Linked DNA regions of Homo sapiens: regions 1, 3 and 4 are each linked to region 2. Evidence: promoter capture Hi-C in human tissues and cell types (Jung and others, 2019). All regions are on one chromosome and are shown on one strand. The core of a region is centred on a gene start or on the middle of the fragment in contact, and the rest is flanking DNA. Distances in the headings are between cores, read along the strand shown.

The links. Contacts are between HindIII fragments. The study calls those that stand out against the background at their distance.
Region 1: a contact is called between a fragment that was not itself captured here and the fragment with the promoter of CACNG3 in region 2, in 4 of the 25 tissues and cell types used here (H1 embryonic stem cells, heart right ventricle, lymphoblastoid cells and 1 more).
Region 3: a contact is called between a fragment that was not itself captured here and the fragment with the promoter of CACNG3 in region 2, in 2 of the 25 tissues and cell types used here (H1 embryonic stem cells and dorsolateral prefrontal cortex).
Region 4: a fragment that was not itself captured here is called in contact with the fragment with the promoter of CACNG3 in region 2 in 3 of the 25 tissues and cell types used here (H1 embryonic stem cells, dorsolateral prefrontal cortex and mesenchymal stem cells).

Annotation. Positions count from the first base shown.
Region 1 is chr16:24,440,495-24,447,196 of GRCh38, forward strand. No RefSeq gene overlaps it. Among named protein-coding and RNA genes, the nearest start is that of RBBP6, 96 kb to the right of the region's middle. The HindIII fragment of the contact is 9,139 bases long and covers 1-5,930 here.
Region 2 is chr16:24,252,227-24,259,767 of GRCh38, forward strand. It overlaps CACNG3 (calcium voltage-gated channel auxiliary subunit gamma 3), which reads left to right and starts at 4,109. Exons shown (of 4, transcript NM_006539.4): 1 at 4,109-4,739. The coding sequence starts at 4,529. It overlaps LINC02194 (long intergenic non-protein coding RNA 2194), which reads left to right. Exons shown (of 4, transcript NR_146569.1): 4 at 481-634. RefSeq lists an enhancer at 3,857-4,584. The HindIII fragment of the contact is 9,462 bases long and covers 1-5,383 here.
Region 3 is chr16:24,476,551-24,483,501 of GRCh38, forward strand. It overlaps LOC105371143 (a long non-coding RNA gene), which reads right to left. Exons shown (of 4, transcript XR_950928.3): 2 at 2,336-2,563. Among named protein-coding and RNA genes, the nearest start is that of RBBP6, 60 kb to the right of the region's middle. RefSeq lists an enhancer at 5,968-6,842. The HindIII fragment of the contact is 5,939 bases long and covers 1-5,925 here.
Region 4 is chr16:24,383,063-24,390,653 of GRCh38, forward strand. No RefSeq gene overlaps it. Among named protein-coding and RNA genes, the nearest start is that of CACNG3, 130 kb to the left of the region's middle. RefSeq lists an enhancer at 1-408. The HindIII fragment of the contact is 3,851 bases long and covers 2,867-6,717 here.

The DNA.
Region 1 (6,702 bases), core at 111-2,610, 190 kb after region 2:
CCTTTGTAACCATGGGACCAGCCCAAACTGGGCCTACTCTGTTTATAAGCAAATGTGGGCTTGTCTTTTAGACGTAACAGAGCCAAAAGCTGCAAGTCAGGCAGCCTGGGCATATGCAATAGAAAAAGCTTTGACAAGACCAAGAACCAACAATTCCTCCCCTTTGGAACCAAGAAGACCGGGACATGGCCGAAACCTGAACACCAGAACTCTTCGAAAGCAAGGGTTTCACTGGCTGGAAAGATCTGGGCCAAAATCAGCCTCAACATATCTTTTTTTTTTTTTTTTTTTTTGAGGCAGAGTCTTGCTCTGTCACCCAGGCTGGAGTGCAATGGCACGATCTCGGCTCACTGCAGCCTCGGCCTCCTGGGTTCAAGCAATTCTCCGGTCTCAGACTCCTGAGTAGCTGGGATTACAGGTGTGTGCCACCATGCCCAGCTAATTTGTGTTTTTTTAGTAGAGACAGGGTTTCACCATGTTGGTCGGGCTGGTCTCGAATTCCTGACCTCAGGTGATCCACCCACCTCAGCCTCCCAAAGTGCTGGGATTATAGGCATGAGCCACCATGCCCAGCCCAACCTCAACATATCTTACTATAAATGGTCAAATTTGAAGCCCTCCAATCAAACCCTGCCAAGCTAACATTCCTAAATCTTTTCCCTTGTCCTCTGATTCTTTAAAACTTGTCCCAGAGCCCAAATCAGGGAGACAGATTTTTTTTTTTTTTTTGAGACAGCATACTGCTGTATCACCCAGGCTGGAGTGCAGTGACATAATCATGGCTCACTGCAGCCTCGACCTCCCAGGCTCAAGCGATCCTCCCTCCTCAGCCTCCCAGGTAACTGGGACTATAGGTGCACAACACCACGACCTGCTATTTTTTATTTTTTACAGAGACAGGGTTTCACTATGTTGTCCCGGCTGGTCTCGAACTTCTAGCCTCAAGAGATCTTCCCATCTCAGTCTCTCAAAGTTCTGGAATTACAGACGTGAGCCACTGCGCCTAGCCCTAGGGGGACAGATTTGAGCCTGACTCCTGTCTCCTTGCTGGCCGGTTTCGCAGTAAAGCCTTTCTTTTCTCAAATTCTGGTGCCACAGTTATTGGCTTCCATGCACATCAGGCTGCAAGCCCATTTGCTCAATAACACCTTCACAGGGGGAGGCGCAGCTGACAGTTACATGTATCTCATGGGAATAAAAAAAGTCCATCCTCTAAAAACCCTCTTTCTGCCAACTCTCATCCCCAGCATTGGCAGCACTGAAAAAAAGAAAAAACAAATAATCTCCGACTGAGCCCTAGAGCCATGAGCCTAACTAAAAGAGTTTTCCGAGCTACATCTTTTCTATTCAGTGCCAGAAGGCTTTAAACATGAAGTTTACACTCCATTCCGAAGGGTGGGCTCTAGGGTAGGTATTAAGCTGGTCAGGGCTGGGGTCAGGGACTAGACTGTCTCTCCCCACACCCCCTGGATGTGGAGGGCATGTTTTGTCAATACTTGCAATGAACCAGGCACCCTGCTAAATGCTTCATGTGTATCATTTCGTTCAGTCCTCACAACGGCCCTATGAAGCAGTTACTGATATTCCTTTTTTTTTTTGGAGACAGAGTCCCAGTCTGTCACCTGGGCTGGAGTGCAGTAGTGTGATCTTGGCTCACTACAACCTCCACCTCCCGGGTTCAGGAGATTCTTGTGCCTCAGCCTCTGGAGTAGCTGGGATTACAGGTGCATACCACCATGTCTGGCTACTTTTTAGTATTTTTAGTAGAGGAGGGATTTCACCATGTTGCACATTCTGGTCTCCAACTCCTGGCCTCAAGTGATCCACCCGCTTCAGCCTCCCAAAGTGCTGGGATTACAGGGGTGAGCCACCATGCCCAGCCTCTCCTCTTTTTGTAACTTTCTTTATATGACCTTCCCAGGGTCACATAACAAGGGGCATTTTGAAGGTGGACAAATTCCCTCTGAGCCTCTGCTCTTACCTATGAAGCAGATTTATCTGAGCCTCCCTATAGGTTTTCCCCTATAGTTTACAGTCTGTAGAAGCCATCCCCAACCTCTCTGGCAACCAGGACCAGTTTCGTGGAAGACAATTTTTCCATGGACAGCAGGGAGGGAGATGGATGGTTTGGGGATAATTCAAGCACATTACATTGAATGTGCATTTTATTTCTATTATTATCACATTGTAATATATAATAAAATAATTATACAACTCACCATAATGTAGAATCAGTGGAAGCCCTGAGCTTGTTTTCCTGCAACTAGATGGTCCCATTCAGGGGTGGTGAGAGACAGTGACAGATCATCAGGCATTAGATTCTCATAAGGAGCACAACACCTAGACCCCTCACATGCGCAGTTCACAATAAGGTTCTCCCGCCTATGAGAATCTGATGCGTCTGCTGATCTGACAGGAGATGGAGCTTAGACAGTAATGCTGGTTCGCCGAGCTCACTTCCTGCCATGCAGCCCAGTTCCTAACAGGCCATGGTCTGTGACCCCAGGAGTTGGGGACCCCTGGTCTATAGAATTTGTTGTTTCCAGCCCTACCTCAACAATTAACCTCACTTTTGCTCGTTTTCATTTGGGAAACCGTAATATTGTGATGTAATAAGAAATACATACTTGGTCTTTCTCCCCAGTTCCTGGTACAAGAGCTTCCTGTAATTTCCTGAGTGACAGAATGTTAGGGGCATCTGTTGTTATTCATAGTAAGGTCCTTTCAACCACACCTGAGTATATGCTAATGGTATATGCAAATGACTCAAGGGGGGGTCCCCTAGATAGCTTCAGGCTTGGGGCTGGTTGCCAGAGGGAATCACATCCATGTGATTAGAAGTTTGGAACTTTCAGGCCAGGCGCGGTGGCTCATGCCTGTAATCCCAGCACTTTGGGAGGCTGAGGCAGGTGGATATCCTGAGGTCAGGCATTCCGGATCAGCCTGGCCTACATGGTGGAAACCCCGTCTCTACTAAAAATACAAAAATTAGTAGGGCATGATGGCGGGCGCCTGTAATCCCAGCTATTCAGGAGGCTGAGGCAGGACAATTGCTTAAACCCGGGAGGCGGAGGTTGCAGTGAGCCAAGACCGTGACATTGCACTCCAGCCCAGGCAACGAGAGCGAAACTCCGTCTCAAAAAAAAACAAAAACAAAAAGTTTGGAACTTTCAGCCCCACTCCCACAACCTTTAGGGAGGAAAGAGAGGCTGGAAAGGAAGACAGTCACCAATGGCCAGTGATTTAATCAATTATGCCTGCAGGATTAAGCCTCCACCCAAAACACCCCTAAACAGTGGGGTCTGTAGAGCTCCCAGGTTGGTGAAGACACAGACATGCTGGGAGGGTGATGTGCCCGGAGAGGGCATGGAAGCTCCACACCCCTCTCCTAGGCCTTGCTCTGTGGACCTCTTCCATCTGGCTGTTCCTGAGGGTTTTTTAAAATAATAAATTGGTAATCTAGTAAGCACACTGTTTTCCTGATTTCTGTGAGCCATTCTAGCAAATTATTGAACCCAAGGAGTAGATCCTGGGAAACTTAGAGCTGGTTGGTTAGAAGTACTGAGGAGCCAGGTGCAGTGGCTCATGCCTATAATCCAAGCACTTTGAGAGGCCCAAATGGAAAGATCACTTGAGGCCAGGAGTTCAAGACCAGCCTGGGCAACATAAAAAGACACCATCTCTATAAAAAATTTAAAAGTTAGCCAAGTATGGTAGTATGCATCTGTGGTCCCAGATACTCGGGAGGCTGGCGGGGGAAGGATTGCTTGAGCCTGGGAGTTCAAGGCTGCAGTGAGCCATGAGCATACCACTGCACTCTGGCCTGGGCAACAGAGTGAGATCCTGTCTCAAAAAAAAAAAGTACTGGAGCTCCAGGATTGGCATCTGAAGTGAGGGCGGTCTTGTGCGACTGAGCTGTTAACCTGTGGGGTCTGATGCTTAAACTAAAATAAAATCTTAAGTCTCCCACTGATTGAACAGACCTCCTCTTGGCCAAAAGGACCCCAAAGAAACCTTAAAAACTCAGTTTCTGGCTGGGTGTGATGGCTCACACCTGTAATCCCAGCACTTTGGGAGGCCAAGGTGGGCGGATCACGAGGTCAGGAGATCGAGACCATCCTGGCTAACACGGTGAAACCCCGTCTCTACTAAAAAATACAAAAAATTAGCCAGGCGTGGTGGTGGGCACCTGTAGTCCCAGCTACTTGGGAGGCTGAGGCAGGAGAATGGCGTGAACCCGGGAGGCAGAGTTTGCACTGAGCCGAGATCGAGCCACTGCATTCCAGCCTGGGCGACAGAGCAAGACTCCATCTCAAAAAAAAAAAAAAAAAACACCTCAGTTTCTGGCTGGGCGCGGTGGCTCACGCCTGTAATCACAGCATTTTGGGAGGCCAAGATGGATGGATCACCTGAGGTCAGGAGTTGGAGACCAGCCTGGCCAACATGGTGAAACCCTGTCTCTACTAAAAATACCAAAAAAAAAAAAAAAAAATTAGTCGGGGGTGGCTGCGGACGCCTATAATCCCAGCTACTCAGGAGGCTGAGGCAGGATAATTGCTTGAACCCGGAAGGCAGAGGTTGCATTGAGCCGAGATTGTGCCACTGCACACCAGCCTGGGCAACAATTGTGAAACTGTGTGTCAAAAAACAAACAAACAAACAAACAAACAAACTCAGTTCTGGCCATGACGCGAAAGGGTTGGAAACACCTCATTATGCACGCTCCCTTTCAGGGTTTAGATACAATACCTGACAAGCATTAATGTTAAACTACAGACCATTAAGACTGATGGAACAGACTATTTGTGGCAATAAGATACCAAAGTATAATCAGGACCAAAAGCCGCGCAGGGCAACGGTTTAATCATGCCCGCAGACCATCAATCTTGCTACATCGCATCCTTCACTGAAAACCCTTGTTTCTGCTGACTCCAAGTTTTTGCCAGAGCCTTACGTCTTTAACCAATTGCAAATTAAAGAATCTCTGCATCTGCCTGTAAGATGTAAGCCCTTGCATTAAGATGTCCCAATTTTTTGCGCCGAACCTATGTAAAACCTCTGTGTATTGATTTATGTCTTTGCCTGTAACTCTTGCCTCCTTACAATTATAAAGCCAAACTGTAATTTGACCACCTCAGGATCCCTTACTCCAGGCTTCTTGGGTTTGGGTTTTCCCTGAGCCACTCATATTGGTTCAGAATAAACCTCTTTAAGATATTTTACAAAATTTTATTTTTTTATTAACAGAGGTTAACTCCTGGTACATAGTGTCAGAATTGAATTACATTGTAGGACACCCAGCGGGGGTAAGAGAATTGGTTGACAGGAGAAAAAGCCCCCAGACATCTGGTGTCGAAGAGTTTTGTGGGTTAGTAGTAGGAACAAACTTCTCTTCCATTAACAATATGTGATTCTGGCCAAGTGCAGTGGCTCACGCCTGCAATCCCAGCACTTTGGGAGGCTGAGGCTGGCAGATCACCTGAGGTCAAGAGTTCAAGACCAGCCTGGCCAACGTGGTGAAACCCTGTCTCTGCTAAAAATACAGAAATTAGCCAGGCATGGTGGCATGTGCCTGTAGTCCCAGCTACTCAGGAGGCTGGGACAGGAGAATCGCTTGAACCCGGGAGGCAGAGGTTGCAGTGAGCCGAGATTTTGCCACTGCACTCCAGCCTGGGCAACAGAGCAAGATCTGTCTCAAAAAAAAAAAAAAAAACAAAAAACCAAACAAACAAAAAAATGTGATTCTGGTGGGGTTGACTCTACCCTCATCTACACAGAGGTGGCTCTTGACTCAGGCCTAGCCAATCAGAGCCTAGTATTCTTCCAAATCCAGAAGGATTACCGGGATTTGTCCAGGGATGGGTGTGTGGTCATATAGAAGCCAAAACAAATCCTTGAGGCCCTCTCCTTCACTGGCTTGCAGGATGACTTTGGGTGAGTCATTTACCTCTGTGGGTGTCTATTTTAGGAATGTGGCACTGGGTCAGTGCTACATCTACTGTGGACTAAGGCAGCATCAACATCACCTGGTGTTTAATAGAGATACAAATTATTGATCCAGCGTGATGGCTCACACCCGTAATCCCAGCATTTTGAGAGGCCAAGGCGAGTGGATCACCTGTGGTCAGGAGTTGGAGACCAGCCTGGCCAACATGGTGAAACACTGTCTCTACTAAAACTACAAAAATTTGCTGGGTGTGGTGGCACGTGCCTGTAATCCCAGCTACCTGGGAGGCTGAGGCAGGAGAATCGCTTGAACTCGGGAGGCGGAAGTTGCAGTGAGCGGAGATCACGCCATTGTACTCCAGCCTGGGCAACAGAGCGAGACTCCTTCTGAAAGAAAAAAAGAGATACAAATTCTTGGGCCCCTCCCAGACCCTTTGTATCTGGTCTGGGAGAATTTGTCCCCCTTGGGCCTCCCGCCAAGACTTTCTTGGGAAGAAGCCCAGTAATTTTATGCTTTAACAAACCCTCGAGGAGATTTCCATGCACGCTGAAGTTTGAGAAGCACCAGATTAGCTGGTCCCTGAGTATCTGAGTCAATTAATCATTGAGTAAAAAAAGAAATCAGAAAAATCAGACAAGAGCTGATCCAGCACTGACAACCATTCTTTTTTCCTCTTTCTTTTCTCTTTCATTTTAACTCACAATTGCCTCTCGTTTTCTTTTTCTTTCTTTTTTTTTTTTTTTTTGAGAAAGGGT
Region 2 (7,541 bases), core at 2,859-5,358:
ACATTTTACTGCTGATCCCATGGACATCACTGGAGTGGTGCCACAAGTAGATCACATAGACTTTTCACAGAAGTCTTCTGAGGTATCACAGAATTTCCCCCTTTTCTAAGAACTATCCTCCCACAACTCACAGGGGCTGGTCCTGATGGCTGCGTTTATAGTACATGACCCTGAATCGTTGGCCACAGCTGCATGGACCAGGAAGTGGCAAGCAACATAAGCTAGGCTGATCAGGTTGTCTCTCCCGGAAATTTTGAATTAGGACTAAAACTTCCCAGTTTAGTCTGGGTGGGTTTCTTAAATAGAGATGACATAAGAACTCAAAATCTAGCTTCTATTTCAAGGATCAAAGAATAGATGAAGCAAAACAATTTTTCAACTAAAAATATGAAAAGAGGCAGAGATGCAAAATGAAGTGACTGTCAAGACTCCTGATGGCATTTTTTTTTTTTTTTTTTTTTTTTTTTTTGCTGGTTCCAGCTCCCTGCCAAGGCCTGATTGAACCTCTGCCCTGTGGTTCCTTGAAACATCGTCATATTCTTGTACTAAATTCCCCATTTTCTTAAGCTAGCTCTGGTAAGTTTTTGCCATTTACAGTCAAAGTGAACTCACTAATAAAATATTCCCAACTGCATAATCTTCTCCCTGGGGGATGGGAATCATATCTTTGTATTCTCCAAGGTGCTGAGCACATAGGGGAATGCCTTGCACATAGTAGGCACTCGAAAAGCATCTGTTGAATTGAAGCAACTGAGAGTACTCCTTCCTAAATGACACAACCATTTACAGGGATCACTGACCCCTCCAGATGTTATGAGAAGATGGACAGGAAAAAGCATAAATAGATACACCGTGCCAACTACTTCACTAGCTGACAGCCCAATAGAAGAAAACAAAAGTCTTAATAAGAGAATCAGACATCAGTTGCAAGATGTCTGAATGTCTCCTAGTCTTCTGCCAGATAAGTGGGATCAGAAAGGGCTATTAGTAGACAAGAGTCTAGCTCCAGCCCGCCCTGGAGAGAGCTCTGAATCTCTTGGGTCCCTCATTGATCTGTTGAAAGAGCCCTCTAGTGGTGAAAATGAGGAACGATCTCTAGCCTTACAAGCAGATTCTACGCGCCCAGGTCCACACACCTACACATTCAATTGAATGAAAGGATGAGGTCACCCCCTAGTAAGTTGGGAGGCATGATAGGGAACAAACTGCGGCCTCCCTGCCTCCACACTCCCACTCCGTTCAGTTGTTCTGACTTGCTCCACATGCAGGCTCGGGACTTCCCACAGTGATCAGGTTGGCCCTGGACAGCAATTCCAAAGAATGAGCCTGCCTCACCAAGTCAGAGGCTCAGGACAAAGCTCCAGTTTTATCACATGTATCCCTTTCTCTTATTCAGCAAAACTGGGTGCATCCTGACCCATAATTGTTACCTTCATCTACCTGAGCTCCTGATCCTTTTCCCCCAACTATCCTTCTGCTAGGCTCCTGGGCACCATACTCTGCTTGTCTGCGCTTCTGTTGTAGAGCTAAGTGGGTGGAGATGAAGATGCTGCTGTTCCACTGTGGGTCTGGTAAATGGAGAGATTGGGGCATACTGTCCCTTAGCCCGAAGCTCACTCACCTTTCATCAACATGGTCCTTCTTTGAAAGAAGACCTTTCTCACTTCTATCCAAGCAAGAGAAGAATCAAACAGATCCTGAAATGACTGCTTTGATCATTAGTAATTATTTCATCTTATTTACCTTTCTGAGAGTGGGGAGAGAAATTTTTGCTAACTGAATTAATCCCTCCCAAGAAATACCAACCTCACCTCCATGTTACATATGGCTTTCCCTTAAAAAAGAAAGGTAATAACAATCAAGGCAGGATATTTTTATTAAGATGCAAATTTTCATTTCAGGAAAGAAAATGACACTAAGAAACTTGTAGGGGCCCTCGTGTATCCTCTCCCTACTATCTTCTGTCATTCTTCTGGAGTACGGCTGTGGTGCTGGCCCCAAGTTTATCCATTCCATTGTGGATTATGTGGCAAGATTTCAGTATTTCTACCTCCTGTCCATAAATCAGTGTTTTTGAACCACGACACATGCATATGCAACTAAATGCTCATAGGTATACACACCTACATATTCAAATCTATACTATACCTACACACGTGCATGCATACACATACATGTGCAAATATGTATGCATATGCATAGCAAAAATGCTAGGCATTTGCAGCAAATATGTTCACATGGTCCATAACACTGTCTGCAGGTACAAACATACATTTACATACTTGCTTTACTTCTATGACGGATTCACAGGCATTCAGAATTTATAACTAAACTGAACATAGCACAGGTGAGCATTCAAACACAATCACTCCACAGCTATATATTCAAACTTCCTCCTGCACATGAGTATTTATCTAACACCAAGAATAAAGTCTTCAGTCTTAACACCAAAATGAAAGTAGCAAAGTCACCAAGAAGTTGTGAGCTGCATTTGCGAACCCTTCAATATATTCCTGCTACCCAGTCACCTGAATAGAAGTTCCCAGGCAGCCAGAGATGGCACCAGGGGAGTATGTTTGTCTGCGATTACCTCCCGTTATATTTCTGTCCAGCTAAATAACATTCAAACATGACAGTTGGTTGCGGACACATCTCAGGAACTGTGGAAACAACCCAAGCAACCTCATTTCCAACTATCTGACCTCTGGATATCAGTCCCAGGATGCCATAAGAAAAAAAATAATAAGGGCATTTCTGTGGGCTGTTTCTAGTCAACTCGGTGTGTGCCCATGCATATGCCGGAATACATAGTAATAAAAAGCTGGTTAAATGCTGGTCCTTTGCAATACTGGCTATTTCCAAGGAAGAGAGCTTTCAGGTGTGCAATGCCATTTGCCCTTTGGACTAACAAGCAAAGCAGACCTAACTTCACCTGCTTCATGGTCTCACTTAGATAACAATGTTAACAAATGATATCTCAGAGACCTTTGAACAAAATCTGACATTTTCAGTGACTCTCCCACCATGAATCCATCACCCCCTTCGATGTAGATATGTTAAAATGTATAAAAGGCATATTCAAAGGCCAAAATCTTATAGTCTTTTGCCCAAGGTCCCTAATATGTGTATGACAGAGTCTATGTATATTTAGCTTCTTCCATCTTTTAGGAATACATGATCATGTATATATGAACAGTTCCGGGTCTGATCTGAGCGGGTTGTCTTCGGTGTAAACCAGAGCTCCAGAGAAAGGAGGGTAGACATATTGGTTTGTTTGCTGGGGAACCAAATTGAGACAGACTCTACACAGATGTGATTGTGACAACACTTTTTGCCCGCCTAAGCGAGCCATAGAGCCGTCTCCAGAGCTGCCGGTGCCTTTAAGAAGACTCGGTCTTTCGGGTCTTCTTTTTCCCCAATGGGCTCCAGTGGTGCCCGCAGCAAAAGGCAAACTTGCCTGGCTCATGGGGTGAAAGGGAGGATTGAAGAATGCCGCGTTGGGTGGGTGCTGAGGGAGCGCCAGAGTGCGCTACGGGCTTCGCTCCCCTTCCCCTTTCCTTAACCCTTCCTAGAGCGGAGGAACCGGGTCGTGCTGCAGCGCCCAGGAGCCAGGGCGCTGACTGTCCTCGGCTCCAGAAACTTTGCGCGGAGAGTGGGCTTGACTGGGCAGAGCCGAGCCGGCTGGCTGACCCGGGAAGGAACGGGGGAAGGGCGGGGTGAGGGAAGAAAGACCCTTTAGCACCCCGGGTTTCTAGCCCGGGCGGCGGTGTGCAGCTGCATGAGGGAGCTGTCCCTTCGGCACCACGGACCTTAAAGCCTAGGCGTTAAGACGACGGAGGCGGGGCAACAGGCGGGGAGCTGTCCCTTCAGCACCACGGACCTTGGCGCCCCCAGGGAAACCAGCCGGCCCCCGCCCCAGGACTCTGTCTTTTCTCCAGTTTGAGCGGGGGTGTCGGGAGCAGGCGGAGAGCTTTCCTGCGAGGCTGTGGAAGCAGTGAACACTCTTCTCAGCGGCTCGCCTCCCAGCAGTGCTATTTTTTGCCATCCGCCCTCACCCCCAGCACACGCGCTCGCACACACACGCACGCACGCACACACACACACACACACACTCACACAGAGACCTCTCTGGGTTTCTTTGCCTTGAGTCTCCCGGGGCTGTGAGAAGCCAGGCGCATCTCAAACCGAGCTGGCAGCTCCAGGCTCCGGAGCCATGCCCTGCACGGACCCTCGTCTTTACCACGCTCCTGAGGAATGAAAGGAACCCAGGGACCCTCAGAAGGCAGCAGTGATGCGGACCAACCCCCCGGAGCCTGCACCCTTCCGAGGGCCATAGGCGACCCAGGGAACTGGAGAGAGCTCCAGAAAGGAAATCCCAGCTTTCCCAAAGTCCCTGTGGATGCTGACAAAAGGAGACCTGAATTTTTGGAAGAGCCTGTACTAGGTTACCCGGCTGCAGAGTGATTTTCCCCTCCGGCACTGACTCTCCCCCTCCAACCCCCAGCCGTCCAGAGTACCATGAAGAATTATGAGGATGTGTGACAGAGGTATCCAGATGTTGATCACCACTGTAGGAGCCTTTGCCGCTTTTAGTTTAATGACCATTGCAGTGGGCACGGACTACTGGTTATATTCCAGAGGTGTGTGCAGGACTAAATCTACAAGTGATAATGAAACCAGCAGGAAGAATGAAGAAGTAATGACCCATTCGGGGCTGTGGAGGACCTGCTGCCTAGAAGGTATTTACAATTTCCTCTCAATAGCTCTGAATAATCCAGTTCTGATATTCTGGTGGGTGTTTGGAGGAGATGGAAATGGTGATAAGGAAAGAAGAGAAGTTCAAATTATTGCTGAGAATGTGCAGGTGCCCAGACTCTGTTAACAGCAAGACTGACGCCATGTGGGTTAAAGGGGTTGGGTCTTGTTGATTGTTTTTAGTATAAGCTTCATGAGATGAGATTTTTGTCACACTCTAGGCAGCTTCTGCAGTTTAGAAAAGTCTTCAAATCCAAAATCCCTAGGCATATTGTCAACTGCTTGGATCTCTGGCTTGAGATGGGGTCTTTAACCCTGCTTAAATTGGATTTCGAAGGGAGGGGGAGGGAAGGGAGGAGAAGGGACAAGAGGAAAGAAGTGAGGGGGGAGAGAGAGAGAGAGAGAGAGAGAGAGAGAGAGAGAGAGAGAGAGAGAGAGAGAGAGAGATCCTGACCCGGTCTGGCACATTCTGAGCTATTTCATTATTTCTCAACATAGACTTATCAGTTTCTCCTGAGTTTGCTCTAACTAGATATTGTCATGAACTTCCACTGCCAATCAGTAACAGGGTAACATATGTAAACCCCTACTCCCACCCACACCCTATGCACACATTTTAAGAAAAAATCCTTATTGATACATGTTTTATTAGTTTGGATCACAACAAAACTGAAGTCTTGGTATTTTGTATCCACCTGTCTTCATTCCTAAATCATTCCCAAACCCCTAAAAAGGTATTTCCATGACATTTACAAAAGACTGATTCTCCAAGAATTGCAGTTCGTCATTTCTAGTTCTAAAAATTAGGGAGTAGTTATAACTTATAATGAAGAAGAAAGAGCAATTTAAAAATATAAAGCCCTTTTGTAGCCTATCACACTATTAAACTTGCTTTCACCACACCAGAAGTCACTCTCAGCACCAGTAGGCAATGCTTGGATATCACTGGGAGTAAATAGAAAGATAAGGAAGAAAATCAAAGCTCTTTGGAGCCTATGTGCCTGAGGGAAGTCACTGGATTAGAGGGGCAGTAGGGGTTTTCTTAGGCTTCCGAGAAATCTGTGAAGCTTGTCACAGTGGTGGGCAAGGAAATCTGCGTTTCCTGTGTGGTCCCCTCCCCTGCTTGCCATTGGTTCTTCACACTGCATTTTCACTGGCTGGCATTTGTCAGGGCTTCTTGAGAACTTGCATTTATGTAAATCGCTTGGGAAATCATGCTATGACATCACTTGCCAGTGTAATATTGCATCATTCTCTGGCCTTTTTCCCATGTCCTGACACTTTGAACAACTGCTCTCCTGACCGTAGCGCTACTACAATTGATTCTGTTTCTAACACAAATTTGCAACTGGTGGGAAGCCCAGGTAGGAAAGGGCTACCTTTAATGCAGCAAGGATCATGTGAAGTCAGAAGACCTGGGTAATGCTGCAAAGTATCGCTGTGGCCTTGGTTAAGACATTTACCCTCTCCAACTCTCAGTTTATTCATCTGGGAAATGATACGTTTGGATTAGGTGGTCTTGAATTAACATTATCTAAAGCTTATACTGTATTCAATATACTGACAGAAATTCTAGAATAATTATTTCCTAAACAATGACAAAAGTTGGATATTTGTGAGCATTTGTGATTGGGTATGGTGAAGTCATTTACCTCAGGGAAATTCCATATTTCCCTTTCTTATATTGGCTATAAGGAATTGAATTATCTTTTGTAAAACTGATTTGGTGGATGTTGCGATATCTACATGGTTCTAGAGATGGCATAGAAGTTCTAAGGTTCCTCCAAGCCAAAAATGGCACATATGTATACAGTGCTTTAGCCATTTCCAATTCTTCTGCCTCTGGGAATCAAACCTGAGAATGCACAATTAAAAATGAAGTTTGACGTTCCTCATTATGATCTATGAAAAAAATATATATCTATAAGAGCAGAGGTAGGACCTAAAATTTCTAAACACTTGCTAAGAATTTCTCAACTGATGATTTCTCTTTTTTCCAACATCAAGTCCTACACCCACAGTTTGTACAAGGAATTGAAACCCCAGCCAGGCATTCTGTAGGCTTAGTGGGAGAAGTGAGAAATTGAATCAAGAAGGAATTGGATGAATTGAAGACATAACCTTGGGCAGGTGAATTCTATTGAGAAAATGTGTTGCAGTCCCCATACAACTTGGCCTGGCTTTTTTTGTTGTTGTTCACTTTTTTGAAGTATTAAATACAGTAAGATGCACAAATCACAATGAATCACAATAAAATATTAGCTATGGCTGCACCCATGTAATTAACACCTAGGTGGGTCCTGGCTGAAATTTGAAGCCAAGATGTGTACTAAACACATCAAGTGTTTGGGGAATTTGCAGAAGCCTCTGATTTCTGCATGGGAAGTCACATGCAGTTGGTAGCATCCATCCCAGGCATTTCCATCCTTTGCTAGAATGAAGATGAACAGTCCTTTCCCATTCAGTATTTCTTACCTACACCTGAGCCTCAAAATCCTCATTTTCTGGTCCTTTAAGTGTCAAATGAAAACTGGGGGTTTTCGTAGCTCCATTTTCTTAGAGGTCAAATTAGAAATGTTTGTTCTTCTGTGCTTTTTTAAAGAGCCATGAGACAATGTGATTATTTTATCCAAAAGAAGAGAATGCCAAGGAGAACATGACAGCTGTCTGCAAATATCTGAAGGGCTGTCATATGAAAGAGAGATTTGAGATGTTCTGTGTGGCCTCAAGGAGGTAGAAGTAGGAGCTAGAGGAAACCAGGTTTTACCTCAATATAAATAACTATC
Region 3 (6,951 bases), core at 1,706-4,205, 220 kb after region 2:
ATTTTACATTTTAATCATACATTTTTAAAAGGAAAAAGGATTATTTTGTTCACGTTACAAGTGTGTCTTCATCTCTTCCCTTAGGAAATGTCTTGAAGGCAAATAGAAGGAGATGCTACCATGTGAAGTAGATCCTGCTGTCAAACCCAGAGGGTTCAACAGTTTGGGAATAAAGCTCGCTTGAAGGAAGAAATTCCAAGTGTCTTTCAAAGCTAATGACTATTAGCACGATTTTCTTTTTTGCAATCACATGGATACAATGGCAAAGCAATGGCCTGGCATAGGGGCTCATACCTGTAATCTCAGCACTTTAGGAGGCTGAGGCAGGAGGATCCCTTGAGGCCAGGGATTCGAGACCAGCCTGAGCAACATAATGAGATCCTGTCTCTACTTTAAAAATAAAAAATAAACAAAATTAAAAGATAAAAATAAATTCAAAAATTATGAGGCAAGGCTAGCAAGGTTGATAATTTACCCACACTCTGTCCCATTAAGGATGATTTTGGCTACAAGTATCAGATATTCATCTCAAGTAGATTTAAATTAGAGAGTTTATTATCTCACATAACAAAAAGGGTGAAGGGACGATGGTCCATTTAGTAGTCTGCCTCCTCAAGGACCCAGGCTTCTTCTAGTTTCCCTGATAGCCCTCAGTTAACTCCTCTCATGGTTCCAAGCTGTCTGCCACAGTTCCAGTCATTACTTGCATCAGAATAGAGACTGTTTCTTCCACGTGTGTCTCTTCTTTTCTTTTCTTCCTTTTTTTAAAATTTTTTTATAGAGACAGGATCTCGCTCTGTTGCCCAGGCTGAAGTGCAGTGGTGCAATCATAGCTCACTGCAGCCTCAAACTCCTGGGCTCAAGCAATCCTCCCATTTCAGCCTCCTGAGTAGCTGGGACTACAGGTGTGCACTACCGTGCCCAGCTAATGTTTGTTTGTTTGTTTGCTTGTTTATTGCAGCCTTGGTATGTTGCTCGAACTGGCCTTGAGCTCTTGGACTCAGGTGACCCTCCCTCCTGGGCCTCCCAAGGGCTCGGATTACAGGCATGAGTCTCCACACCCTGCGTCTCTTCTTTTCAATGAGAAAAATCTTCCCAGATGCCCCACAGTAGAAGTTTCAATGTCTCATAGCCAGAATTGTTACATAATCCTTTGCCTAACTACATCACTGACAAGGGAACGGGGCATGAAGACCAGTTTAGAATAATCAGTATGTGCTTCTGAGTCATGCAGGAGAGGACCATTTGCCCTGAGCAAGTGACTGTACAGAAAGAACGAGAACACCTGAAATCAGGGGAACCAACGGTATCTGCAACATACTACAAAGCAGGTGTACAAAACATGAACGTTCTTCTTTGTCCGTAAATATCTTGCTCATGTGCCCTTGTCCCACTGATGTCAGGGGTGGAAAAATCCTAACTTCCAGTTAAGGTAACTTGGTTACTTCTAGTTCAAAACAGTCTCTCTAGTGCTGGTTCAATTTCTTTTGGATAAATATTCAATCCAATTCAAGGTTCAAATTCTCTACCAGGGCCATCTCTCTCTTGTCAAGGGTTGGTTCCTCATTCTCTGTCTCAAGATGGTATGGCATCCAGGTCCTCAGAAAAGCCTACACTTCCTCCTAATGATGGGGCAGGGGCCCACATATGTCCCACTGTGCTGTCTCCTGGACCTTCAGTATTCTCTGCAGAAATGTCCTTTGTCCTGCCCGATCACTGAGACTTCTGCTGGCCTCTGATGCCGGTGATATAGGAGTAAAGAAGAAATTATTTAGGCAGACAGTGAGGGTAAGGAAGTCCTCAGTAAGGTTTCCTTTTAATGAAAAGCAGCCCCTGAATCATTTCTTTTCTAACAAACAGCAGCCTGTAAAATTGAGCTGCAGACACAGAAGCTTGCACGGGTGAATGCGGCAGCTGTGTCAATAGGAAAAGGCTACCTGGGACTAGGCATGTTCAAAATGGCAGCTGCATCTTCCCTTTCCCTTTCCAACCACATGTGCATTAGGCAGCAGACAACATGGTGCCGGCCAAGTGGAAAGCCTATTTGCATAATAAGATTAGGGTGGCGTGGCCAGCTTCCCCACACGCTATGTAAAACTCACACCTGGTCCAACCAATCTGTGGGCCCTGTGTCAATCAGACACTGCCTCCTCAAGCCTGTCTATAAAATCCAATGCACTCCATCGTGGGTCAGAAGTCCCACTGGCGCACTCCTCTCTCTCCTACTGTTACCCTTTCTCTTTCTTTTGCCTATTAAACCTCTGCTCCTAAACCCAATTCTTGTGTCCGCAAACTCGATTTCCTTGGCATGAGACAACAAACCCCCGGTATTTACCCCAGACAATGACACCATCTCACTGGTGGCCACAGTTGGTAGATGCTCAGATCTCCCAGTTGGGTTGTGCCACTGGGTGACTGGGCCAGGACCCTCTGTTGGGTAAGTCCCGCCTTAGCTTTCGCTGGCTCCGTGGATCCCTCTGAGATTGGGCTGTGACTTCCTTTCAATCTCCCTGGCCTCAGCAATCCATCCTGTAGCTCTTGGCTACACAGTCCTATGTTGACCCTATAATAAAAAGACAGGTTGGGTGCAGTGGCTCACACCTGTAATCCCAACACGTTGGGATGCCAAGGTGGGAGGAGTGCTTGAAGCCAGGCATTCGAGAACAGCCTGGGCAACATAGTAAGTCCTTGTATCTACAAAAATACATATATATATATACATATATATATATACATATACACATATATATATATACATATACACATATATATATATATATACACATATATATATATATATATGTGTATATATATATATATATTGAGACAGAGTTTCACTCTTGTTACCCAGGCTGGAGTGCAATGGTGCAATCTCGGCTCACTGCAACCTCCGCCTCCCGGGTTCAAACGATTCTCTGCCTCAGCTTCCCGAGTAGCTGGGATTACAGGCATGCACCACCACGCTTGGCTAATTTTGTGTTTTTAGTAGAGACGGGGTTTCTCCATGTTGGTCAGGCTGGTCTCTAACTCCCGAACTCAGGTGATCCGCCCGTCTCGGCCTCCCAAATTGCTGGGATTATAGGCATGAGCCACCGCGTCTGGCCACAAAAAATATTTTTTAAACTAGCTGAGCACGGTGGCACATGCCTGTAGTCCCAGCTACTCAGGAGGCTGTGGCAGGAGGATCACCTAAGCTCTGAAGGTCGAGGCTGCAGTGAGCTGTTATCACACCACAGTACTTCAGCCTGGGTGACAGAGCAAGATCCTGTCTCTAAAAAACTAAAAATAAAAAATAAAAAGACAGCTAGTACATTCAATTACTTTCTTTGTCTCTCTTGGTAATGGTGGAGGGGAGTGCTGGAGGTATTCCCAGGCACTCAGGAATTGACAGAGACCCAAGGCACCAGTGAAAGCCCTCTCTACATAAACACACGACACCACCAGTGTTCCTCTAATGCAGCCACTCTGTGCTGGTGCAGGGCTTCCGATGACTCATTTGCATCCCAGAGTCTCAAATGGGGACTGGGGCCCATACCCCACTGCTTGAGGATTCCCCCATATGTCTCCAGTTTTTGCTACTACACATTCTCACCCCACCCAGCAGGAGTTTTGATCCAGAGGGAGGGAGACAGGACACACTTACCTGACCCTTGTCCTTCCTCTCTCTCTCTCTCTTTCTCTCCCAATCTCTCTCTCTCTCTCTCCCAATCTCTCTCTCTCTCTTTCACCCACAGACACACACACACACATGCACTTATATCAAAAACTTTGGAATCAAAAAGCTCACTGCTATTTCAAAGACAAATACTACAAGTTCAAAAATATGCAGGCCAGGCGTAATGGCTCATGCCTGTAATTCCAGCACTTTGGAAGGCCAAGGGTGGCGGATCACTTGAGATCAGGAGTTCAGCACCAGCCTGGCCAACACGGTGAAACCCCATCTCTGCTAAAAATACAAAAATTAGTATTTTTAGTGGTGCAGTGGCACAAGCCTGTAATTCCAGCTACTCGGGAGGCTGAGGCACGAGAATTGCTTTAACTTGGGAGGTGAGGGTTGCAGTGAGCCGAGATCACACCACTGCACTCCATCCTGGGTGACAGAGGGAGACTCTGTCTCGAAATAAATAAATAGACTCCAACTAGATTCCCCTTCAATGCATTTGTTTGGGGGTGTCTGATCACCACATACAAGTTCTGTCTGCACGTGTAACATGAACTTACAGGTCAGAAAGACACTGACTCTTTGGAGTGTCTTTAGGCTTTGGAGACAAAAAAAACACTCTGAATGAGAATCACAGCTCCTGTATTCTGCTTTGACTTGAAACTATGAGCTCAGTTTTGGGTGAGACACTGAAGATGTAATGGGGGAGAAAGCATTCATTGGTATGGGCAAAGCAATAAAAGAAAACTCTAGGAGTCAACTAAGTGGGATATGAACGAAAACTACCAGAAATGGTGATTAGCTCATCTATCATCAGAAGGAATCAACTCATCATTTCAAAAAAAACAAATAAAAATTGGGCCATAATTAGGTCCAATTAACTCATCCTTCAAACACATTCTCTGTAGTGGACATCTGTTGTTTTGGCTGCCTTTCGGGTAATTACAAGCCAGTTTCCCTTTGGAGGAACATCCCTCCCCCAAATGTCTGCCATATAATTGATTGGGAATGACCCCATCCCTAACTCCAGGAATGGGTATCAACTCCCTGAAGCCAATCAGCTAATCAGTCTAATCCCCCAAGCCACAGTTTAAAGATTCACACATAACCAGTTAGAGCCAATGAGCTTCAAGGGGGTGCGTGGAAGAGAAGATGTCACTCTTCTTCTGAATATGTAGCCACCATCTTGTTTCCACTGTAGAGGCAGCCTAAGGATGAAGCCAACCTATGGGAGAAGGCAGTGAGAAAGGATGGTCACACTACTTGAGGCTGAATGTAGATTAACTTCTCAGTACTGTGAGCCAATACTGACCTAAGTGCTTAGGACATACATCATTTGCACAACCCAGTAAGAGGTAGGGTATTACCCCATTCTACAGGAAACCTGGTACTCATATAAATTAAGAGGATTGTCTAGTGTCACAAAAGCCAGGATTTGCAACCAATCATCTTGGATGCCAAAGCCCTGGCTCTTAATCATTCTACATGCTTATATAATCCTCACAATAAACTAAAACTCAGAGAGTTTAGGTAACATGTCCAAAGTCACACAGAAGGGAGATAAATGATGGAGCTGTGATTCTCATTCAGAATTTTTTGTCTACAAAGTCTGCATATTCTGCTTTAACATCAAACTATGAGCTCATTTTGGGGTCAGGTAGAGCCAATAACAAGGTTGACACATGCGTTTTTTTGTTTGTCTTTATTTTGTTTTTTTGAGACAAAGTCTCGCTCTGTCACCAGGCTGGAGTGTAGTGGTGCCATCTCGGCTCACGGCGCCATCTCGGCTCACTGTAACCTCCACCTCCCGGGTTCAAGCAATTCTCTTGCCTCAGCCTGCCGAGTAGCTGGAACTACAGGCATGTGCCACCACGCCCAGCTAATTTTTGTATTTTTAGTACAGATGGGGTTTCACCATGTTGGCCAGGATGGTCTCGATCTCTTGACCTCGTGATCCGCCCTGGCACATGTTTTTAAGAGCAAGGTTCCAGAGCCCATGAGGCTGGTGTACTAACACTCAATAAATGTCAAATGCCTCTGTATCTTATTCTTTTTTTTTTTTTTTTTTTTGACAGCGTCTTGCCTCCAGGCTGCAGTGCAGTGGAGGGATCTCAGCTCACTGCAACCTCCGCTTCCCAAGTTCAAGTGATTCTCCTGCCTCGGCCTCCCAGGTAGCCTGGGATTACAAATTTGAGCCACCATGCCTGGCCTCTATATATCTTAGTCTTAAATTCACCCACTGATATGGTATAGCAAGAGGGGCAATAAAGATAATAATAACCTAGCTATGCATAAACAGAAACCCAGCTAGATTTATTCCCTACTTGGAGGGTCTTTTGGATACCACTGGCCCTCCCCTTAAATCCATTCTCTTCTTTCTAGGTATGGAGGTGAACTACAATTCCCAGCATCCCTTGCAGTTAGGTGTTTAGTGATTTAGTTCTTGCCAAAGGGATTCAAGTGGAAGTGGTGTGTGTCTAGGCCTATGCAGTGGGCGTGACTCCTCCATGTTCTTTCTCTTTCCCACTGGTTGGAACCCTCACCATGCAGATGATGTTAATGCACTGGTATAGAGCAAAGCAACACGATGAAAGAACCTGGGTCCCTGAAAGACTATGTGGATTAGAGCCACCTCAATGATCTCAACTGCTAACCTCAGCACTGTTACATGAGAGGGAAAAAACCACTTTGTTCTTTAAGCCATGTATTGTTGGATACTTTTGTTATGGCCGCTTAGCAGTTTTACACTAAGACAAGGATCTAGAGGTCTTGGAAAAGAATTAGTCATGTTACGGGTGAGCTCAAGAAAAGTAACTAAACACAGCTCCCTATCTCAGGTTAAAAGCCACAGGATCTCATGCCTCTTTGTTATTCTCTCAGCATGAAAGCTCACTGCAGTGAATGAATAAAGCCAGCACTGGGTCAGGGGCTAAGGCAAGCTGCAGAGACTGTAAGGCATGGAGCCAGCATCTGTAGCAGACAGCAGGGAAAGTATGCCACATAGCTTAAGAGAGTTTCCTAAAATCCTGGTGCTGTGAGCAGAGCCTTTGAGAGAACCAGTGAACCCCCAAAACATCTGTTACATGAAGACCAAAAATGAGGGACTCTTCTGCCGGGAGGAAGCATCAGAAAATATTACTTTGATGGTGCCTTGGTAATTTTGAGCTGTTATAACAAGATACCATAGACTGGGTGGCTTAAACAACAAGCATTTGTTTCTCATAGTTCTGGAGGCTGGGAAGTTCAAGATCAAGGCATGGGCTGATCCTGTGTCTGGCGAGGGCTCTCCT
Region 4 (7,591 bases), core at 3,542-6,041, 130 kb after region 2:
AGCTCTTAAAAAGCTCTATTTCATTCTTCCAAGACAATGGGGCTACTCACCCTTTAAAAGTAGTTCATGGATTGTTCCCAGGAGGCCCACAGTTACCTGAGAGCTTCTCTTATTTGTTCCTTAAAGACTGACTATTATTACTTCCCCTTTCCTAGAGAATAGAGCCTGATTTCCTCCAGAGGGGCCCAGAGCATCACAATAAAAAGGCCTTTTGTTGCTCTGAGGAAATTCATCTTCCCAAGAATGATAACATGACCTTCCATTACCTCTCCCGCTAGGACAGAGGAAATAACTCTAATTCTGACATGGCGTCTGCTATGTAAACCAAAGCTGGGTTATCTTTAGAGACAGTCTTTGGTGTGTTAGGATTTCAGCTGCCTGGCGGGGACTTTGCTCCACAGAGTCCACCTCTGCCATCCCCTAATCATAGGATAGAAACTAAATCTTTCATTCGCCAGTGGGAAATAAACAGCTAGTGTTGAAACTGGACTGGGGCAGGGAATACAGGTGTATGTTTCCTTCAGTCCAAGAACAAACGCTTAAGTCTTTTTAATTTTTAGAGACAGGGTCTTGCTGGAGTGCAGTGGTGCAATCATAGCTCACTGCAGCCTTGAGCTCCTGGGCTCAAGTGATCTTCTCATCTCTCAGCTTCCCAAGTTGCTGGAACTGCAGGCACACACCACCATGCCCTGCTATTTTTCAAAATTTTTTTGTAGATATGTGGTTTCACTATGTCTCCCAGATTGGTCTCAAACTCCTGGCCTCAAGCGATTCTCCTGTCTCTGCCCCCAAAAGTGCTGGGATTACAGAACACTTAAGTCTTAAGAAAGTGTTTCTTTCCTTAGTCCATTTATTTTATTATGTATTATTATATATTAACTACATTTATATTCATTATATAGTTATTTATTAATTGCAATATTGTATGTTATTATTTTCCTCTCCCTCTAAAGTCTGTTCAGTGCTCCACATGCCCTGTCCTCAAGCTGAGCTCTACCTGCCACCCCCAGAAAAGTAAGACCCCAATTCCCCAGGCTGGCCTCATGTGTTGCAGAATCTGCCATCTCAGGCGTCTCTTGAATATGAAGAGACTTCTCCTCTGCTCTTTTTGCTGGTGGGGAGGGTAAGCTTTGATACATTCTTCTGGTTTCTCCAGATAGTGAGGAAGAATCCTTGTCCCATGAATGAAGGTGCAGGGTAAGATAGGGAAGTAGACATACCCACTCTAGGCTATGGCTTGTTTTCTCTCAAGGCAACTGAAATCAAACACAATGCTAACGTCCCTTTAAAAACCCCCACCACAAATAAATGTTTTTGTCTCTCATGACTTGACTTTGACCTATTCATCGACAAGTAATTAATCTGGCTTTATTATGCTAAAGACACAGCTACTCCTTTTTTTGACTTGGGTTTTGTTGTTTTTTGTTTGTTTGGGGGACAAGTTCTCACTCTGTTGCCCAGGCTGGAGTGCAGTGGTGCAGTCTTGGTTCACTGCAACCTCCGCCTCCCGGGTTCAAGCAATTCTCCTGCCTCAGCCTCCTGAGTAGCTGAGACTACAGGCGCATGCCACTGTGCTCAGCTAATTTTTGTATTTTTAGAAGAGACAGGGTTTTGCCATGTTGGCCAAGCTAGTCTCGAACTCCTGGCCTCAAGTGATCCATACACCTTGGTCTCCCAAAGTGCTGGGATTACAGGCGTGAACCACTGCACCCAGCCTTAACTTGGGTTTTATTACAATGCAGCCCCAAATTACCTCCTCTACTTAACTTGCAGGTCAGATTTTTTTTTTTTTTTTTTTTTTTTTGAGACTGGGTCTTGCTCTGTCACCCAGACTGGAGTGCAGTGGCACAATCTCAGCTCACTGCAACCTCTGCCTCCTGGGTTCAAGCAATTCTCCCACTTCAGCCTCCCAAGTAGCTGAGATTACAGGCATGTGCTATCATGTCTGGCTAATTTTTTGTATTTTTAGTAGAGACAAGGTTTCACCATGTTGGCCATCCTTGTCTTGAACTCTTGACCTCAGGCGATCCGCTGCCTCAGCCTCCCAAAGTGCTGGGAGGCCCGCCACTGCGGGCCACCCACCTGTGCCCAACCACCGCACCCGGCCACGTCAGATGTTTTCAACTATGGCTAAACATTAGAACCACCTTGGGAACTTAGAAACAGACAAACAAAACCCTATGCCCTATCCACTGTGATCTGAGAGACCAAAATAGACTCCCCTTTATCAACTAAGATGGGCCCTATGGTTAGGGAAACAGAAGTTACCCACAGGTTGAGGGTTCAGAGTGATTGGCATGCGAACTCCGTAAATTGCTACAAGAAAAGCCACACCCTTTCTAAACTGCCTAACACAATAGGAGGTACCAGGCAAAGTACCAGGCCTCTCCTAACTCTGATTTACAACTCAGACCACTACAACTCTGTCGGACAGAGGACCGGTCTTTTTTTTTCTGATAAGCAACTGCAGACCTTAAGCCAGTTTTGGCAGTTTATAGAGGCTGTGCACAAACTGTTTCTGTGTCCTATAGTTCACTTTTTATGTAAAGATCAAAATTCCACATCATTTTAATGCTAGAACACTACCCCAAAGTGAGCATGAGATGTATGTTACATATATGTTTACCCAATTCACATGCACTCAGCGCCTCTCATAAATATGTACAGCCGTTCCCCCAGACTTGCTGAATATGTACAATACCAGTCCTGTGAGGCAAAAAACCCAACCTGCTCTTTCCCTCTTTGAAAAGAGAGCACCTTTGGTCCAGGCTGGAGACTGTCTCTTCCCAGTTTACAAACTGATATCACCAATAAAGCTCTCCTTTCTACTCTTTGGCCATATTGGTGGCCTTTTGGACAACGCTATAAACGGTAAACATACTCCTGCCCTATGTCCCAACAATCCCGTCCTCAAGTGTATGCCTAACAAAAACAAGTTCATCAAAAAATAAAAGTGAGGCTGCGCGCAGTGGCTTACGCCTGTAATCCCAGCACTTTGGGAGGCTGAGGCAGGAGGATCACTTGAAGTTAGGAGTTTGAGACCAGCCTGGCCAACATAGTGAAACCTCGTCTCTACTAAAAATACAAAAATTAGCTGGGCATGGTGGCACACGCCCATAAACCCAGCTACTCGGGAGGCTGAGGCAGGAGAATCGCTTGAACCTGGGAGGCAGAGGTTGCAGTGAGCCGAGACTGTGCCATTACACTCCAGCCTGGGTGATAGAGTGAGACTCTGTTTCAAAAAAAAAAAAAAAAAAAAGATAAGTGTACAGGCAGGGCACAGTGGCTCACACCTGTAATCCCAGCACTTTGGGAGGCCAAGGCAGGCAGATCACGTGAGGTGAGGCGTTCTAGACCAGCCTGGCCAACATGGAGAAACCCTGTCTCTACTAAAAATACAAAAATTAGCTGGGTGTTTTGGTGAGAGCCTGTAATCCCAGCTACTCAGGAGGCTGAGGCAGGAGAATCACTTGAGGTGGAGGTTGCAGTAAGCTGCGATCTTGCCACTACACTCCAGCCTGAGCAACAGAGTGAGACTCCATGTCAAAAAAAAAAAAAGTGTACAACATGTTCATAGGAGCTTTTGTTACGATAGCCAAATAATTGAAAACAACCACATTTTCATCATCAATAGGATGGATCAATAATTTGTGATATATTCGTCAGTGGAATGAATGACTGCTGTCCCCACAAAGTGGATGAATCTCACATACTATACAGCTTCATTTATATGATGTCAAGAACAGGCAAAACCAATCTAGAGGTACAGAGGTCAGAATAGTGGTGCCCTGTTCTGGTGGGGTGGCAGGAGTTACTGCCTATGAGTGAGACAGGATAATTCCCTTCACCCACTTTGTGGGAGGGAACTGGAGTGGCTCATTTATCTCAGCCCACTACTGGCCACTCCTCACAAGAGGGAGCATGCAAGCAAGTGAGGGTGGGAACTGGAGCGAATGAATATTGGAACTGGCCAGTTGCTCCTCTATGGCAGGAGCAGGCTCTGTGCGGCCCCACAGCAGCATCCAAGTATATTACAACCAGTGTTCTTTCAGCTCTGCCACCCAGGGACAGCAAAGTGCCAACTAGCTCACTGGAGGGTCAGGGTGGTAGCCCCTGCCCTCTTGGCACCCGGGATCTTGTCGAGAGTCCAGGAACAATCAGGTCACAGGAACGGATTGAAAAGGTAATGAATGTGGAGGATTTTACTGGGCAATGGAAGTGGCTCTCAGTGGGATGGGGAGTTGGAAAGGGGATGGTGTGAGAAGAAAGCGATCATTCCCTGAAACCGGGACATCTCCGGCTGGGCCTCTCTCTAAAGCTGCACAGTCTGAAGTCAGCTGTGTCTATCCATAGTCTCTGATGCTCAGTTGCTTCTCTGTGTACCACTCAGCCACTTGTGTTGCTCTTCCAGCTGTAGTCTTTTTATGGACACAGGATAGGGGCATGGCAGGCCAAAAAGGCAACATTTGGGAGGAAAAATGGGGTCAGCTGTTTTCGCTTAGGGCCACCGTTCCAGGCTTGGGGGGGGTTTAGCCAGGATCCCAGCCATTCTGAATCAGGAGAGACTTAAGGAACTTCCTAGAGGGTGCTAGAAAAGTTCTAAAGCTTCATCTGGGTGGTGGTACATAGGCATAAACTTATGTAAAAATTCATTGAGCTGGCTGTGCATGGTGACTCACACCTGTAATCCCAGCACTTTGGGAGGCCAAGATGGCAGGATTGCTTGAGGCCAGGAATCCCAGCCTAAACAACATAGCAAGACCCCATCTCTATAAAAAATTTAAAAATTAGCTGGGCGTGATGGCTTGCACCTGTAGTCTTAGCTACTCCAGAGGCTGAGGTGGGAGGATCACCTGAGCCTAGGAGGGTGAGGCTGCAATGAGTGGTGATCATGCCACTGCACTTCAGCCTCGGTGACCTTCTTTCAAAACAAATTAACTAAAAAAAAAATTTTGTTGAGCTGTACAGTCAAGATTCAAGATTAATGTATCCTAGTGTAATATGTAACTCAATAAAAATTTTTGTAAAATAAGCAAAATTATATAAAATACAAAACACCTCTCCCTGAGAGTCTGATTTAATTGGTCCTCAGTGGGGCCCAGACAAGAGGATTTTTTAAGACTCTCAGGCTGGGAGCGGTGGCTCATGTCTGTAATCCCAGCACTTTGGGAGACTGAGGCAGGCAGATCACAGCCTGACCAAAGTGGTGAAACCCCACCTCTACTAAAAATACAAACATTAGCGTGGTGGTGCACACCTCTAACCTCAGCTACTCACAGCTTGAGGACATGACCCTATTAGTCACATTTAGTGAGGCACTAGAATTGCTTGAATCCAGAAGTTTGCAGTAAGCTGCGCTCCAGCCTGGGTGACTGAGCAAGACTGTCAAAAAAAAAAAGAAGGAAAAATTAAAGAATCTCAGAGGATTTTGAGATAGCCTCTCTCTGACCCCGTGGATCACCCCTCACAGCTGTGTGGAGAAGAGGAGCGAGTGTCAGTACATGCAGGAATCTCTGGTCAACTGGGCTGAAGCTGATGACTTGACCTTCGGACCTAAGGGGAACCTCTTGTTCCCCATTGGTCCACATCTTATCATCAGTGGGTCATTGAGACAAAAGCAAAGAGTGTTGAGGAAAGAAAAAGTGATCATGAGACAAAGCAGGGACTCCTCTTGGGGCCTTCTGGGCAACCCTCGACCATGAAAGCAAGGAAATAAAGGAAAAGCTTGAGTTCCTTCTGAAACCACCACTGCAAAATTGTAACTGAGATCTGACCTGACCAACTCCATCTTGCTTCTAACCTCCAGGCTGCCCTGGGCCTAGGCTGAACTAACTTTGGGAGGAACTTAGTTTATAGTGTAAAGCAAAGACAATAACAGCCCTTTCCCAAAACAAACCTCATTGCCTGGGGACTAGACTGCTTTTGCAGGACTAACAAATTAGCCACAAGATTAGAAATTATGGTTTAGGAGTCATGCAGCTAGAGGCTACAGGATTCTGACCCTCCCTATACTGCTCCTAAGATCAGTGCTTGAGATATTTTGCAGACCTTGCACTTGATGGATCGTCACCCAGACCCACTAACTGGCTTATCTGATCTTGTGACCTCCATCCAGGAACTGACCCCACGCAAGAGGACAGCTTCAATTCCCTATGATTTCATCTCCTACTTAACCACTCAGCAGTCCTGGCTCACTGGCTTCCCTACCACGCACCAAGTAGTCCTTAAAAACTGTGACCCCGAATGCTTGGGGAGACTGATTTGAGCAATAATAAAACTCCGGTCTCCCGCACAGCTGGCTTTCCGTGAATTACTCTTTCTCTGTTGCAATTCTCCTGTCTTGAGAAATTGGCTCTGTCTAGGCAGCAGGCAAGGTGAACCCACTGGGCAGTTACATTTCCAGGGAAATTCCAGGCACCTAGCTAGGACTGAGAAGTAAATGAGCAATTTGATAAGCAAGATGGTAATGGTGCTTAAAACAAAAGCCAAGGATGTTAGAGTCATGAGAATGTTTGGTTCCCCATAAAAACTAAAGACAAAAATCTTAACAAATGTGCCTGACTTATTTTTCAGAAATCTGGACCCCCACCAAATGGATCCACTGGGAGGCAGCCCTCAGAAAAGGGAGAACTGAGGATGGAACTCTGACTGCCATTTTTCTTTTTTTTTTTTTTTGTGATGGAGTCTCCCTCTGTTGCCCAGGATGGAATGCAGTGACACAATCTCAGCTCACTCTAACCTCCACCTCCTGGGGTCATGTGATTCTCCTGCCTCAGCCTCCCAAGTAGCTGGGATTACAGGCAGGTGCCACCACGCCCAACTAATTTTTGTATTTTTAGTAGAGACAGGGTTTCACACCCGGCCCCATTTTTCATCCTAAATTTCTTCCTGAGGGACCTGAAAGGGGTCACATCCACAAGCCAGAGCTAACAGTCTTTTCAGCTGATCCCAAATCTTTAAACAAATCTTCAAACAAATCTTCATCTCCTTAACCAATCACAAATCAGAAAATCTTTGAACCCACCTGTGACCTGTGGGCCCCTACTTCAAGAAGTCCCACCTTTTTTGGTCAAACCAAAGTACAGCCTTCACGTATTGATTTATGACTTTGTCTGTAACCTCTCCCCCTGTGACTTTAAAATCCCTTACTTGCGCTGGGTGCAGTGGCTCATACCTGTAATCCCAGCACTTTGGGAGGCCGAGGTGGGTGGATCACGAGGTCAGGAGATCGAGACCATCCTGGCCAACATGGTGAAACCCCATCTCTACTAAAAATACAAAAATTAGCTGGGTGTGGTGGTGCGTGTCTGTAGTCCCAGCTACTTGGGAGGCTGAGGCAGGAGAATTGCTTGAACCTGGAAGGTGGAGGTTGCAGTAAGCTGAGATCGCACCCCTGCCCTCCATCCTGGTGACAGAGCAAGACCCCATCTAAAAAAAAAAAAAAAAATCCCTTACTTGTAAGCCATCAGGGAGTTCAGGTCTGAGGCATTAGCTGCCCGATTCTCCTTGCTTGGCACCCTTAGTAAAGGCCACACTTTCTCTTATTGCAATCCTAATGTCAGGATTTGGCTTTGCTTCACCAGTGAGTAGA